Regions from separate parts of the Homo sapiens genome. Here region 1 is linked to region 2. The links are contacts of gene promoters, found by promoter capture Hi-C in human tissues and cell types (Jung and others, 2019). All regions are on one chromosome and are shown on one strand. Each heading gives the region's core, a stretch centred on a gene start or on the middle of the fragment in contact. The rest is flanking DNA. Distances are from core to core; before and after follow the strand shown. Region 1 has its middle 13 kb from the start of SFMBT2. Region 2 holds the start of ANKRD16 (ankyrin repeat domain 16).

Region 1 (4,657 bases), core at 628-3,127, 1.5 Mb after region 2:
GCCTTCACATATACCAATGCTTTATTACTTTCATGAAACTTAATCTTTGTCAAACCCTGAAAGGATAGCTAATTTTACTGACCAATTTGAAAAGCAGACAATGGGAGTGAGAGCATATTCCTAAACAAATTGTTATAAATTTACACGAAGCCAGGCATGGTGGCTTGCATCTGTAATCCCAGCTACCTGGGAGGCTGAGGCAGGAGGATCACTTGAGCCTCAGAGTTCGAGGCTTCAGTGAGCTGTGATTGTGCCACTGCACTAGGCCTGGGTGACACAGCAAGACCTCCATCTCTTAAAAAGAAATTCCTATGAAATGAGTAGTTATAGAATAATACTGCAGACCAGAGTAGTGAACAAAAGAATAAAGAATGAAGAGACCTGGATTCAAATCCCATGGTGCCCCTAAATAGATTATTTGCAAGTCAATGAATTTATCTGAACCTCAGATTGGCCATCTGTGAAATGGACATAATTATCTCTTACTGGCTGGGCATGGTGGCTCACACCTGTAATCCCAACACTTTGGGAGGCCGAAGCAGGCAGATCACTAGGTCAGGAGTTCAAGACCAGCCTGGCCAGCATAATAAGACCCCGTCTCTACTAAAAGTACAAAAATTACCCAGGCATGGTGGCTTGCACCTGTGATCCCAGCTACTCAGGAGGCTGAGGCAGGAGAATTGCATGAACCCGGGAGACGGAGGTTGCAGCGAGCCGAGATCACGCCACTATACTCCAGCCTGGGCGACAGAGTGAGACTCCATCTTAAAAAAAGAAAAGAAAAGAAATAACCTCTTACTTTATGGGATTGAGAGGAATTAGAAGGTTGCAATATGCCCAGTGACCAGAGCAGAGCATTGAGTTGGGTGCTAAAAAACATTTTTTTACACTCCCTTTAATAATAAAATAAGTTTCCAATTCTAGCCCATAGGAACAGGCTAACCTGGAATTCAGAAATGGAAGAGACTAGCAAAAGTCTCAAGACTCAAATTGAATCTTGATTCATGTGAATTTGGACAAACAACTTAATCTATTTTTGTCAAAGATAGTCCTCAGGAAAAGTGACACTGATAATGATGGTTACCTTGGTGCCTTCCTACCTGGGGCATGTTGTAAGACAATGCTATCATCGGGGTCATTGCGACTTATTACTGCTTTATTCCAATCATCGTGCTAGACACCATTTGCTTTTGTATGTGTTCTCTTGTTTCCAACTGCTTTGAGCTCTTAGGAAGTACAGAGCTACAGAACTTTAAGGTATGGCTGGCATTTCTCCTGAGTCTTTTGTTGGCATGCCTTTAGCATCTAAAGAAAAGGAGGAGAAGGAGAAGAAGCAGAAGAAAAGGAGGAGGGGGAGCAGGAGGATGAAGAAAGGAAAATTTGGAAAGCCAGGAAATTATTTGAGACAGAAATATCTCCATCTCTTTTTCTCTTGCCTCTAAATAGTATAAACCATGTTGAATGAGCCAATATTTTCCAGTTTAAAAAAATACCAGGTGTTTTTTTCTTCATTCCTTTTGCCAACTAAGAAAAAATGTTTAGCAATTTTTTAGTAGTGAAAAAATACATGTCTGAAAATTAGAACCTGAGTCTGATAGACCATAGTCATTGGTACATAGAATGAGCTCCACGAATGTTTGCAGAATTAGATCCTGGCTTTGGCATTGACCTGAAGGTAAACTACGTGGTGATACGTCTCCTTCTCTCCCTTTCTGTAAATGAGAGTGATAGTATCATGTGCACATTTCTGGAAAGATGGTATGAAAGTCATTACAGTTCCATTACGTTCTGAGCTTCTTGGACCAAAAGGGACAATGAAGATTTTGTTTTTTGAAAGCAAAGGTTGTTTATGCAGCTTCCGAGTGACTGACGTGCTCCACATATCCATTGTTTGCACTCCTGGGTTTATTTACTTTGAGTTTTGTCATTCTGGGACAGGAGGAGACATCCTGCTGGGGGGAAGCTGCAGGGGTGAGCTGCAGATGCTTTGAATAAGAAGGCTATTTTCATCGACTTAATTTTAGTGACATAAGAATCCGGGGGATGCTGGGGCTTGCCTGGAGACTCTCAAACTGGAGAACCCTGGGGGTAGAAGGAAAGATCTCAAAGTCGTTCTCATGGCCAACTCTGCAGCTTTGCCAGCTTCAACGAGCCATCCCAATGTGAACTGTGCTCAATATTCTTAATATTGCTGAATTGAGGGGGTAAACCCCAATACGGTCAGTGGCCCACTCCATCCCAGTTTTCTGCTCTGGTATTTCTTCACAGTATGTTATACCATATTCTTTTATTATCAGTCACTAAAGACAACTATCTTTTCTTTTTTTTATTGACCAATATATTTATAAACTGCCACACCAGTGACAACTATACTTTAGTAATAATTTCTGACAATTCTACTGCATTCTAGTCTTGTTTCGGTAAACAGATGGTGGTGCCCTATTCAACAGATGCTGCTGAGTGCTTTGGGCTCCACCTCCAAACACGCACTGAATTTTTGAGTTTTTACCTTTTGAGCACTGCTCCGCTCTAAACCAAGTCACCAAGCACCCCCAGACTCGGATGAGCTCATGGCAGGCACATCCTCACTGGGCTCCCTGAGTCTACTCTCACATCCTACCCTTGGTTCACGACACAGAGGCAAGAGGGTGAGCTCTCAAAAAGTGAGTCAGATCACACTAGTCCTGGCTCAAGACGCTGCAGTGGTTTCCCACCCGACGGGAGGTGGAGCTGAAGTCCTCGGCACGGCCTGTTTGCTTCTGCTACCCGCTTCCCCTCCAGCTGCTTTGTCTAGTAAACTTGCGCCCTGGCGCTGCTGGGGCGACTCCAGTCGAGGTCTAATGCTGTTCCTTGCACAGGCAGACTGTGCTCCTTTCTCAGAACCCTTGCATCTACTGCCTTCTGTCCCTGGGATACTCTTGCTCAAGATGCTGGCTTGCTTGTTCCTCTATCCCCTTCAGGTTTCAGCTTCTCCGATCACCCTATATTTGCAAACACTTCATCCCCCAGGGCCCTATACCCTGCTCTATTTTTCTGACTGATACTTATCATCACCAGTATCACGTTGCTTTTTCCTTATGAGTTCTGTCTCTCCCACTACAATAGTACCGTGAGAGTAGGGACTCTATCTTATTTCTAGCTGTATCCCCAACCCATAGAACATGATCTGGCTCACAGTAGATACTTAGTAAATATTTGTTGAATAAAAGAGGAAAGAAGTATCACAAACACAAAGCCTATCTCTGAATAAGGCTGACATGAATGTTTTGCATTAATGATAGATTTCATATAATCTGCATTTGTACACAAAGCAGGAACATATTCAAGTGCAACACGCCTTCAGAACACTTGAGTGAGAGGCGAGGGTGTGCATTGTGGTTTAGGAAGGCTCTTGTACATAAGCATGGGAGAAACGGAGAGATGTCTTGCAGTGAAACACTTTGCCTTATGAAAAAACAACCTCATTTGTTTGATCCTTGCCATGGTTCCAAAAAGGATTTGAGGCCAGAGTTGCAAATTGTCTTCCTTTTTCCCTTGACTTTCTATGCTTCCAAAAAAAGAAAAAAAAAGTGTTTTGAAGGACTTTTTGCTCTCAAATTTTTTAAAAATAGATTTCCAAGTAGATTGCAGGCATGATCCAAGCCTTGCCTCATTAGTTACCTTAATAGTCCTCTGATTATAATCCCACATTTATAAACCCGCACTTGTAGAGAGTGGATCCTTTAAAAACCCAGTGAATTCCATTAGGACTGACACATGCAGGAACCTCCAGGAGTTAAGGGTCACTGCTGGATGTCAGCTCAAACCTTCCCAGTAACTCTGCTCTATTGGAAGACCAGAGCTCAGCAGCAGGAGACACTCAACTTTCACTTGTTGCCCCGTTCAGTAAAAGCAAGATCCTAAATGAAAAACTGACCAACGTAAATAGCAAGAAACCAGCTTCCCATCCAACTCAGATGTAAGTAGCTTGATCTACATCTCAAGATGGTTGAAATGTAAGCCATGTTCCTACTCTTATTTTATAGGTCATTGTAAGTAGAGAGAAACAGGAGCATTGACTACACTAAAGATGACTACTACATAGATTAGTAAAATGTGATCATGTAAATTCTGCTAGTTAATGTCTAGTCTTTAGTAATTCTCCATGATCGCGTACAGTAATTCTACACAATTGGGTTTACATGGTGTCATGCAGGTAATGCTGAACCACAATTTAGGTTTGCATTCGCTTCCTGTTCAGCCTTTCATCGGCTCTATAAGCTTGAATGAAGGATTGAACCTCTTGCACTCCAAATTTCTTTGTATTAAAAAAGAGACAGAAAAAAACTAAAGTTGCCATTAGGCCTTATAAATCTAATAATTTCTATTTCACTCTCCTACTTAGATGCTAAGTGTCATCCAGGCTCAGAGATCTACAGAGCTATTCTGATCCCCTTCCAATTCTACCTACCCCCTTGCCATTAAGGAAAACATTAACTATGACATCAACATTAGCAGCGCATGAGTCCATTCTCAGAAATAACTCAAAGCTTCAAGAGTGGAGTAAGGGATTTCCTTCCAGAAAGCAGAGACACAAAAATGAAATTCAACCGGGAGCATCAACCATAGTTTATCTCCAAGACCCAATCTCATCCCTTCCACCATGTTCCTACCTGGC
Region 2 (4,534 bases), core at 231-2,730:
CCAGTGGGGAAGATGTACTTCCCTATGTTCCTAAAGATGTTCACGCCCTCTAACGAACCTGACCTAGTGAGTACTAAAATCAGTGTCAATCTAACAAACGAAATGCAATTGGCTTGTGTGATGGTGGAGCAGAGTATCTCTGACTGTGGTGGTTATGCAAGGCTGCACGTATGTGATACAACTGCACTGTGCTCTACACACACGAGCGCGTGTATAACTCAGGAATTCTGGATATTGATTGGAGCAATGCCACTTGAAACAATGCATTGGTGCAGAAGTAACTTAGCTAAATGTCCCCAGAACATCGCATCCGGAGGCTATCTGTATAGTGCACACACTTCATTGTTTGGTAACATTCTCTTTGGTTATATTCTACACTATTCCGTGCTCTAGAAAGGGAGGTGACTGCCCCGACCAGTTAACCCACAAGGGCAGGAACGAGGGACTCTGCAGGTCATCTGCGTTATAAGGGAAAGTTGGGCAGGAGGTCCCTGCCGCTGAGCAGGCCTGGGGTGAGAACTAGGAGCTGAGAACAGCTACGGTGTCCAAGGGGACGGAGAAGCACAGGGAACTCGCTACGACTCTGCGAGTAGAGGGGAGGCGGGGTGTCTTTCCGCTCCACACCTACCAGTCGGCCTTCTTCAGGCAGTCGACCGCTGCCCCCCGGCCCAGCAGGTAGCGCACGCAGTCTCGGTGGCCCATGGAGGCCGCCTCGTGCAGAGGCCGCTTGTAGTCTCGGTTGGTGGCCTCGATGTCCATGCCCCAGGCCTCGGCCAGATAGGCCAGCACGTCCCGATGCCCGTGGCGCGCGGCGCAGTGCAGGAGGGTATCCCCGGCCGGCCCCGGGCAGCCCCCGGCCGCCTGCAGCTCCTCCTTCAGGGCGCGCAGCCGGCCCTCCTGCACCAGCCTGCAGAGGCGCCGCGGGTCCCCGGGCTGGGCCATCGCCGCGGGTCGGGCCGGGCTGCGCGGGGAGGCGGCGGGCGGGACACCGGCGGCCGGGCAGGGAGAAGCCGAGGGCGAGTGGGACTTTCCGCCTCTTCACGCAACCTGCCCCGCGCGCCCCGAACCCGGCAGAACCGCCCCTCACGCCCCCGGCTTTGTCCCCGGCAGAGCCGCCTCCTCAAACCCCCGGCCTAGTCCGCAGGCGGGCTGCCCCCTCACAGCCCCGGCCTGCCCCGCGTGGGAGAAGCCGCGGTTCCGGGCACGGGGCGGTTTTTCCTCAGGGACGGAGCGGTCCGGGATGAGCACGGAGGGGCCTGGGGATCCGAGAGCGCTGGCGTCCGCCGTCCTGGAGCTGCAGCGGCCCGTACGTGATTCGGGACTGAACACGTAAGGGAGTGGGGCGCGCCGCTACACCGCAAAGCCCCAAAGTGGAGGGTCCGGGAGGGCGCGCACAGCCTCGCCCGGCGCCGTGCAGGGTGGCTCCTGAGGCAGCCAGGCCCAAGCGTGACCTGCCCCGCACGCGTCCTCAGGGCCGCCCCAGCCTCCAGCCCCTGGGGGCCGGCGTTCCTGGGCTCCGCCCCCGTCCCCGCCCCTCGACCGCCGCTGCTCCGCGGGGACTCGGGGAGCTCGAAGGAACTCTGGGAAAGTTTCCCGCTCCGCCCCGGCCCGAGCGGAAGCGCGGATGGGGCGTGGCCCGGTAGCTGTGGCCGCGCCCCCACCGATTGCGCATTTCGATTGGCGTTAGTGGCCGTCCGTCAGCACGCCCCCTCCGGTCTCGCGTCCCGATTGGTCGCGGGGGCCGTCAGTCCGGCTCCGGCGGCGGGCGCTTCCCGGGGCTGCGGCGGGGCGGAGCTCGCGGAGGAAGTCGGCGGGCGTCTCGGGCTCCAGGTCCCGGCCAGAGGAGGAGCTCGCTGCCGGGGGACGCTGGGCTGAGCGGCCGGCGGCGCGGGCCCGGCGGCGGCGGCAGCGGGGTCCGGGTCCGGAGCGCCACAGTGCGTGAGGCCGCAGACGTGGCAGGGAGTGTGGGAGGGGCTCCGCCGTGTGGAAAACTTAACCTCCGGGGTCCTGCGCGGGGGGTCCGGGCCCGGGGTGGGGCAGCGGGGGCCCCGGGGGCGCGAGGCTGGGCTCGGGCAAGCGCGGGCGTGGGGGCTCGGCCGTCCGGGCCGTGGGCAGGTGGAGGGCGCGGCGGGGGTGCGCGGGGGAGGCCAGGGCGCTCACTGAACTCGGTCGGGAGCGGCCCCCGCGCTGCCCCCCGAGGCCAGGAAGGCGCAGCGTGTGGGTCCTCGGGGCTGAAGGGGCAAGCGCGGGGACGTGGCCTCGGCTGCTAGGAGGCCAGGCTTTCCCGTCTACTCTGACGTTTTGACCTTGGGCAAGTCATTTTTCGCTGCCCTCTGCCCCTGTGTCATCGGTAGCTTCTCTGCCCCTCCTCTGAGCATGGGAAGCCTAAGGCGATGTGGGAGGCCTGGCGCTGGTGGAGGGCACGGCGAGAGCTGGGCAGGCTGTGGGTGATGGAAGAGATCAGTAGGTGTTGGGTTCCTTACCCGATCTGATTAGGTGCCAGTCACTTAACCTCTCCATGTTTTCGATTCCTTTAGGGAGTAGAATGGGAGTAGCTCCTATTTGCCAGGCCTAAAAACGAGTGCCGTTTACATTTTTTATTGCAGTCTGTGGTCCGAAGACAACCCTATGAGGCATCAGTAGGGTTTTACAGGTGGGGAAGTGGAGGCCTAACCAAGTCAGTGACTTTCTTACAGAATTACAGGTAATAAAGTCTTCTGGAAGGCAGGATGGTAGCATGTGTTGAGTGTCCGCCAGCGTCTGCCGCTGTGGTAAAATGAGCGGAGATAAATGAAAAGACTTCTGGAATGGGCCCATGAAGATAAGTCCGTTTTACTCATGAGCAGATTGAGTTTGGTTAAGGTAACAGTGATGTGGATAGCCTCTGGAGACAGAACTAGTCCAAGTACCAGCTTTGCTCAGGTTATTGTTCTGTCGTGCCTTGTCACTCCAGCAAAAGAAAAAAAGGAAGGCATAAAAGTTGTTTGAAATGCACAAAAGTGTAGGGCGTGCCAAGCAGTGTTCTGCTGCCGTTGAAGTTAGTGCAAATTGGAAGTTGAGGCATCTGGTAGCTTCATGCTTTTTGCTTTTACCCCTGCCCCTCTCCCAGTTTCAGATGACTATCTTCTCTTGCATTATGTCTCTAGTTTCCCTGTTTTTTAAACATAATTGGGACACACGGGTTCACAGTAGGTTGGAATATATATATATATTTTGAGACAGAGTCTCGCTCTGTTGCTCCGGGTGGAGTGCAGTGGCACGATCTCGGCTCACTGCAACCTCCCCCTCCCGGGTTCAAGCAATTCTCCTGCCTCAGCCTCCCGAGTAGCTGGGATTACAGGCGTGTGCCACCATGCTCGGCTAATTTTTTTGTATTTTTAGTAGAGACGGGGTTTCACCATGTTGGCCAGGCTGGTCTTTAAACTCCTGGCCTCAAGTAATTCACCCAGCTCGGCCTCCCAAATGCTGGGATTACAGGCGTGAGCCACCGTGCCTAGCCAGGTTGGAATATTTGAACCCAGGATAATTGGTTACTTCATTGGTGTTGCACATTCGATTCTGCCTCTTGTGTCTTCTCTATGAACCTTCTTTGCTCTGTATCCCCCTTTGGATAACTAAATGATAATGTATGTGAATCTGTCCCGCAGCTCCTGTGATTTTCTGGGCAAAAGCTTGGTCTAGAGGGGCGGGATCTGAACAGTAAGCTAATGGATGGAGCTGTTTCCTGGGTCTTGCTGTTTTCCGGTTGGGCTGCTCATTTCTTTCGTGCAGACTTTTGGAGGTTGTGGTCTGGCCTTTACAGTCACGTCACATGTAGTCGTCATTGGCACCGACTTGCTCCTTGGCTGCCCTTCCTTTTCCTCCTGTTTTTCATGGGTATGCTGTTGAGCATGCCCATTGGTACACTGATCATTTGACAGGTTTCGTGATTTGTGAGTGTGTGTAGACACCACTATTGGTATTAGATTTAGAATTCTAATTTTGGGTTTGTTGACATCATCTTTTTGCTGCTTATCTCATTCCTCTATCCCTCCTAGGCTGATTTTATTTGGAAACTGAATTTGGATTCCATCTTTGCCTTTCTGGCTGTGAAATTACCTACTTTTAGAAAGCATCTCAAATCTTATATCTGTAACTGTCATTCACATGCCTTTTGAAGACCAGTCTCAGATTTCAGAGGACCTCCTGGAGCATAAACATGGTATTCCACAGATAACTTAAAGCCAGAAATTATTTTTAAAACTAGGACTTTCAGCCTCCCTCTCACTCCGGGGGAAAAAGTGATTAAAACACAAACACTGTTTCTCTTTTATTCCTTAACATGGTTAATGACATTAACATCTCTTTGAATGTTCTACTAGAAATGCCAGTTATCCTTGTTGCTCTTTATCTTTTATCTTTCTGTCTTGTCAAACAAAGCCATGTTCTTATGCACCTGCAGGGTCTGCTACTCTCAGGCCTTTGCCAATTCTCACATAGGTTGATATGGTGGCTTTCTGAGTTGTTTTCCTGACAATCTCCATGTCTCTCCACC

Evidence for each region. Contacts are between HindIII fragments. The study calls those that stand out against the background at their distance.
Region 1: a fragment that was not itself captured here is called in contact with the fragment with the promoter of ANKRD16 in region 2 in 1 of the 25 tissues and cell types used here (dorsolateral prefrontal cortex).

The regions. Positions count from the first base shown.
Region 1 is chr10:7,421,777-7,426,433 of GRCh38, forward strand. No RefSeq gene overlaps it. Among named protein-coding and RNA genes, the nearest start is that of SFMBT2, 13 kb to the left of the region's middle. The HindIII fragment of the contact is 5,034 bases long and covers 1-4,394 here.
Region 2 is chr10:5,888,413-5,892,946 of GRCh38, forward strand. It overlaps ANKRD16 (ankyrin repeat domain 16), which reads right to left and starts at 1,481. Exons shown (of 8, transcript NM_019046.3): 1 at 629-1,481. The coding sequence starts at 942. It overlaps FBH1 (F-box DNA helicase 1), which reads left to right and starts at 1,831. Exons shown (of 21, transcript NM_178150.3): 1 at 1,831-1,934. The coding sequence starts at 1,934. RefSeq lists silencers at 764-1,043, 1,054-1,163, 1,304-2,023, 2,214-2,263. The HindIII fragment of the contact is 15,491 bases long and covers 1-4,534 here.